Linked DNA regions of Homo sapiens: region 2 is linked to region 1. Evidence: promoter capture Hi-C in human tissues and cell types (Jung and others, 2019). All regions are on one chromosome and are shown on one strand. Each heading gives the region's core, a stretch centred on a gene start or on the middle of the fragment in contact. The rest is flanking DNA. Distances are from core to core; before and after follow the strand shown. Region 1 holds the start of GALNS (galactosamine (N-acetyl)-6-sulfatase). Region 2 overlaps VPS9D1 (VPS9 domain containing 1).

Region 1 (2,789 bases), core at 22-2,521:
ATATTTTACATTATTTTTCTTTCACCAAGTCTTCTAAATCTGTGTATTTTACACTACCAGCACCTTCCAATTCCGACAGCCACGACTGCCCAGCCCTTGGGTGTGGCCCGTGGCCCCCACTGGTCAGCACAGGTGGGTCTGAAGGCACCTGTCAGGGTCTCTGCTGGTCGGAGCCAGCACACAGGGGCTGAGCGACACCGACGGCCCAAAACTGTCTGGTACTCGGTGTCGTCCCAGTCCTCACACACAACGTGAGCACGGCGGGACAGGTGTAACCCCCCAGGTGTGGCAGCTGAGGTTCAAGAATGGAAGTGACCCCCAAGCTTGGAGACAGTAGGGTTTCAACCCAGGTGTGTCTGGGGTCCTGCACGGTGACCCATGCCCCAGGCAGGCTCATTCCTGAGTCTCCAGGTGGCTCCCACAAGGAGTTAGGGAAGGAGGCCTCCAGGCTGGCTGTGACCCCTGACCCCGCACTTGCCCACCAGGAGACATTCCAGCCTTTCAGTTCTTCAGACCTTAGGGACACCTGACCTTCGCTCAGCATTCTCCAGAGGACAGAGACAGCCGTCAGGTAAGACTGGAGCCCAGCGGGGGGACCCGGCGGCCCGAGGTGGCGGGAGTGATTCCTAGGGCGACGCAGCTCTCAGGCAGGGCGGCAGGAGCAGCCTCTTCCTCCCTTTGGGGAGGCCACGCTGCGCGCCCACCTTTCCCAAGAGTAGAGGGCGGGAAAGGTCAGACGGGGGAGGCAGGGCCCGGTAGCACGCCGGCCACCCACCTGCCAGGGAGGACGCTGTCCCGGTCATGCAGCACAGTGGCAGCGCGTGTGGTGATCGGTGACCGCCGAGACCCCACGCCTGGACCCCGCGGCCACTCCCCGAGGGGCCTCCCCCTCCCCGCACGGGGATACCCCCCGTCCCCTCCCCCTCCTCCTCCCCGCGCGGGGCCTCCCCCCTTCCCCAAGGGGCCTCCCCTCACCTCTCCCCCCACCCCGCCCGCCCTTCCCCCACCTCGCTCCTCCCTCCATCCGCCCCTCCCCTCCCCGCCCCACCCCGGCCCTGCCCCGTCCCACCGCCCGCACTCACGTCGTCCATGAGCAGGAGCAGGATGTTGGGGGGCTGCGGGGCGCCCGAGGCCCCCATCCCCGCGGCGCTGAGCACCAGCAACAGCTGCCACCACCTCGTCGCCGCGACAACCGCCGCCATGGCAACCACGGGAGCCGCGGAGCCCCGGCCAGCGAGCCGACCTAGCGAGCGTCCGCCGGCCCTTCCGGCTGGGCTGCGGGGCGGGGCCTGGACGGCCACGTGACTCGCGGGGCGGGGCCAGAGTCCGCGGAGGGACGGGAGGCGGGGCCTGGACTGCCTCGTGACCAGTGGGGCGGGGCCTGAGCCAGCTGTGTGCGGATGGGGCGGGGCTTTGGAGGCCGCGTGACCAGCGGCGGGTCACGTGACGCGGTGCCTGGCGCCGAGCCTCCCAAGATGGCGGTGTGCATCGCGGTGATTGCCAAGGAGGTGCGTACGCGCGGCGTGGGGCGTCCGGGCTCGCACCATCCTCGGCTCTCCGCTTTCTTTCTACTTCTTCCCTGGGCTTAGAAGGCACCTTAGGAAATGGGACCTGGAGGAGGCCTTCGCCGAGCTCCAGCGGTCAGGGGCTTCGCGGTGGACGAGCCGCCAGGCAGACCCTGACTGAGACCCCAGTTCCGCGCTCGCCCGTCCCGCTGCTGAACGCACCCCTCGGCGCAGCAGGTCTCCTCCCCGCCAGGACCCACCAGAAACCTAGGTGGTCCCGGGCACTACCTCCGTCCTCCGTCCTCAGCAGGTTCTGCCCGTTCTCCCGTCCAGCGCTGGTTCCCCGCGGACGGCGGCCCCGGCCCTCCTGCCAGTCTCCCCGGAGCCGAGTTAAAAACAAATCGGATCCTGTCACGCCTCTGCCTGAGACCTCTGCAGTGGCTTCTCGTTGCCTTAGGATGCTGTCTGAATAACCTGCTCTGGGATCCTTTCCCCCCATAACCCTTGGCACTCTCCGCTCCAACCAAACAATTCTGCAGCTCCCTGGACATGCTCTGCCCTCTCACCTGTGGGCCTTTGCACGCGGAACACCTCTCCCCAGCTCCCATCCTCTTTACTGGCCCACATACATTTCAACTGGAAAGCATTTTCTGAAGGCTAAGACTGAGCTGGGTGGCTGCCCACACGCTCCTGCTGCACGGAGCCTTCATTTCCTAGCCAGGGTCTCCCGAGACCAGACTCGAGACCGCTCCCTGCTGGGCGGTGGCTGCTGCTAAGCTGCTCATGGGCTTCCCTCTTGGCCAAGATGATCATTTGCTTGTTTGTGGGTTTATTGACTAGGTATCACTCCCCACGAGGGTAGCGAGGACTCTTGTTCACTGTATTTGTGCAGGACCCAGTGCTGAACACACACAGGGTAAATGGTGGTGTGTGAAAGACCGAGAAAGAAGCTGTTAATTCTGGGCTTCCAATGGTCAGAAATGCAGAGATGAAGGGAATTTGAGCTGAGTCTTGAAGGGTTTAGTAAAAGGGTCACTGTCAAGGTGAAGAAAAGCCAGTATTGAGGGTGCTGTATTTGGGTGAGCCATGCAGAGTTAGAGGTGGGCTGAGGCAGAGTGGCCTCCAGGAGAAGGTGAGAGGCGTGCCCAGGTGCCAGGCTTGATCGGCAGGCTGTGCTCAGGCCCATTTTTCTGATTCATTTTTTCTTTTCCGCCCACCCTACTGCTGCTGCTTTGCAAACAACACATAAATCTCCTTAGGTTAGCTGGGATCCCCTGAAGGCAG
Region 2 (2,759 bases), core at 118-2,617, 860 kb after region 1:
CCTCCACCTTCCAGGATCAAGCGATTCTCCTGGACTCAGCCTCCTGAGTAGCTGGGATTACAGGTGCACACCACCACGGCCAGCTAATTTTTGTATTTTTAGTAAAGACGGGGTTTTACCATGTTGGCCAGGCTGGTCAGGAACTCCTGACCTCAGGTGATCTGCTCGCCTCGGCCTCCTACAGTGCTGGGATTACAGGCGTGAGCCACCAGGCCGCCTGCATTTGCTTGTGTCCGGCCAGGGGATATTCCCATTCTGGGACTCATTTTAAAAACATTCGCTGTCAGGCCAGGCGCAGTGGCTCATGCCTGTAATCCCAGCACTGTGGGGGCCGGGCGCGGTGACTCACGCTGTAATCCCAGCACTGTGGGAGGCCGAGGCAGGCGCATCACGAGGTCAGGAGATCGAAACCATCCTGGCTAACATGGCAAAACCCCGTCTCTACTAAAAATACAAAAAATTAGCTGGGTGTGGTGGTGGGCGCCTGTAGTCTCAGCTACTTGGGAGGCTGAGGCAGAAGAATGGTGTGAACCCGGGAGGTGGAGGTTGCCGTGAGCCAAGATTGAGCCGCTGCACTCCAGCCTGGGTGACAGAGTGAGACTCTGTCTCAAAAAACAAAAAAAAAATCGCTGTCATCAGCTCATCTTTCTCAGCCTCAAAAACCCAATCCCAGGCTCATCCCACCTCCCATCTTGTCCATCTTACTTCTTACAGCTTTGTGACTCTGCCCCCTGAAGCTTCTGGAAGATCTCGGGTGGCAGAAAAGGAGAGAGCTTTCCTCCTTCATCGGAGTATACACGGCGGTGTCGGCCGGCAGGCTGGGGAATGGGAGCAGCTGCAGGCATGGTTGGCTTCAGGCGTGTTTTCCCTGCAAGCCATGGGTAACCAGGGGTCAAGCGGTGGGCCACATCCCACAGAGGAGATGCGGGCTTGGGGGATGCCCCAGGAGAGCCGCCTACTGCAGGAGACCCACCAAGCTTGGCGGCCGTCGACTGGGCCCTCTCCAGACACTGCTGTGCTAGCTTCAGCATCTTGGAGGTGTCGGGGGGCACAGTTTCCCCAGCTTCTGGGGGAGGGACAAGAAGGCTGGTCACAGTCGGCTCTACCACTGTTACTTACTGCTGAGATAAAATGAGGCAACGGAAAAGGCAGGCAAGCCCACTGCCCCCCTCAGCACCCCCACTGACCCCGGGCAAGCCCACTGCCCCCCCATCCCCTCACTGACCCTGGGCAAGCCCACTGCCCCCCCATCCCCTCACCCCGGGTAAGCCCACTGCCCCTCCCGTCCCCCAACTGACTGACCCTAGGCAAGCCCACTGCCCCCCCATCCCCTCACCCCGGGTAAGCCCACTGCCCCTTCCACCCCCCACTGACCCCGGGCAAGCCGACTATTCCTCATGGACCCCAGGCAAGGCCCCTGCCCCCACCATGGACCCCAGGCAAGTCCCCCCACCCACGCATTTCTAATCATCTGCCCTGGTTTTGCCTCCTGAGTCTGCTAAGGCTGTGGGCCCCTCATCGAGGCCCGTCACAGCCTCGACCCTAAACAGGCCTTTAGTGCTCACTCAGCTTCACTTGCAACTGCAGGCCTCTGGGAAGTGGCCGTTTTACAGAGACAAGGACGTGCTGAGGGGATCGCCTCACCCATCTCCCACCGGCTGTGTCCCCAAAGTCCTGCCTTCCCGTAGCTTGGCATGGAGCACCTCTGCGCGACCATGGACCTGCTCACACAGCCCTTCTGCGCGCCGTGGGAGCTGCCTCTCTGTGACTCGCCCCTGGACCCACCGCCCCAGCGCCTGACCCACCTCCCTGCTGCCCTTCACAGAAAACTTCTCATAGACTCCCATTTTCTCATCCCGCCCCGATTTAGCCCCCGACTCCCCCCGGAAACTGCCCTTACCCGTCCCCACCTTGCCAGACACGGTGGGCCACTGGAGTTCCTCTGTCTTCTGGGACTTTGCTCTCCCCAGGGGATCCTCTGCCACTCCTCCACCCAACTCCTCAATCTTGGAGCGCCAGAGCTCAGCCGAGCTCACCGGCTCCCTAGGGAGCTGGGGCAACTGTTAGCTCCCCCTGACCTGTGTGATCCTACGTCCAGTGGCTGCCCCGACCTCTGTGATCCCACGTCCAGGGGCTCCCCCGACCTCTGTGATCCCACGTCCAGTGGCTCCCCCGACCTCTGTGCTCCCACGTCCAGTGGCTCCCCCGACCTCTGTGCTCCCACGTCCAGTGGCTCCCCCGACCTCTGTGCTCCCACGTCCAGTGGGTCCCCCTGACCTCTGTGATCCCACGTCCAGTGGCTCCCCCTGACCTCTGTGCTCTATGTCCAGTGGCTCCCCCTGACCTCTGTGATCCTTTGTGCAGCGGCTGCTGGCCTCTCAAACTTAATGTGTTCATTGCGGAACTTGCTATTCCTCTCCTTGCCAGTTTGCTCCTGCCCCATCTGCCTCCTGCAAGTCTGCTCTGTTCCACCTTCAGGACGCACCCCGAGGCCGTTTACTGCTCCCATCCTGGGTGGTCTGGCCACTGCCATCCTCAGTCCTCACCTGAGGCTCCACTCCCAGGCTGTCCTCTCCCTCAAAGCTCAAAGTCTCTTCAAGTTTCCCTGCACACCAGAACGGCCCCAGTTCCACCCAAGGCATGCACACAGCCCCACCCCGCCCACTCCTATTTCAGGGCCTTTGCACACCCCACAGCTGGAATGCTGCCCCACGTCTGTGCCGCTCACTGGAGCCAGTGTCTTGCCACACCCCAGTCTC

What was found. The method cuts DNA at HindIII sites, captures the fragments that hold promoters and counts their contacts. A contact is called where the count stands out against the background at its distance.
Region 2: a fragment that was not itself captured here is called in contact with the fragment with the promoter of GALNS in region 1 in 1 of the 25 tissues and cell types used here (dorsolateral prefrontal cortex).

The regions. Positions count from the first base shown.
Region 1 is chr16:88,855,676-88,858,464 of GRCh38, forward strand. GALNS (galactosamine (N-acetyl)-6-sulfatase) reads right to left here and starts at 1,272. Exons shown (of 14, transcript NM_000512.5): 1 at 1,083-1,272. The coding sequence starts at 1,202. TRAPPC2L (trafficking protein particle complex subunit 2L) reads left to right here and starts at 1,452. Exons shown (of 5, transcript NM_001318525.2): 1 at 1,452-1,508. The coding sequence starts at 1,476. It overlaps LOC107983950 (a long non-coding RNA gene), which reads right to left and starts at 905. Exons shown (of 2, transcript XR_933884.3): 1 at 776-905; 2 at 1-626. RefSeq lists a silencer at 1,005-1,404. The HindIII fragment of the contact is 6,299 bases long and covers 1-2,789 here.
Region 2 is chr16:89,715,757-89,718,515 of GRCh38, forward strand. It overlaps VPS9D1 (VPS9 domain containing 1), which reads right to left. Exons shown (of 15, transcript NM_004913.3): 3 at 974-1,066; 4 at 706-868. It overlaps VPS9D1-AS1 (VPS9D1 antisense RNA 1), which reads left to right. Exons shown (of 4, transcript NR_036480.1): 3 at 715-1,148; 4 at 1,588-2,409. Among named protein-coding and RNA genes, the nearest start is that of VPS9D1, 3.8 kb to the right of the region's middle. The HindIII fragment of the contact is 3,293 bases long and covers 1-2,759 here.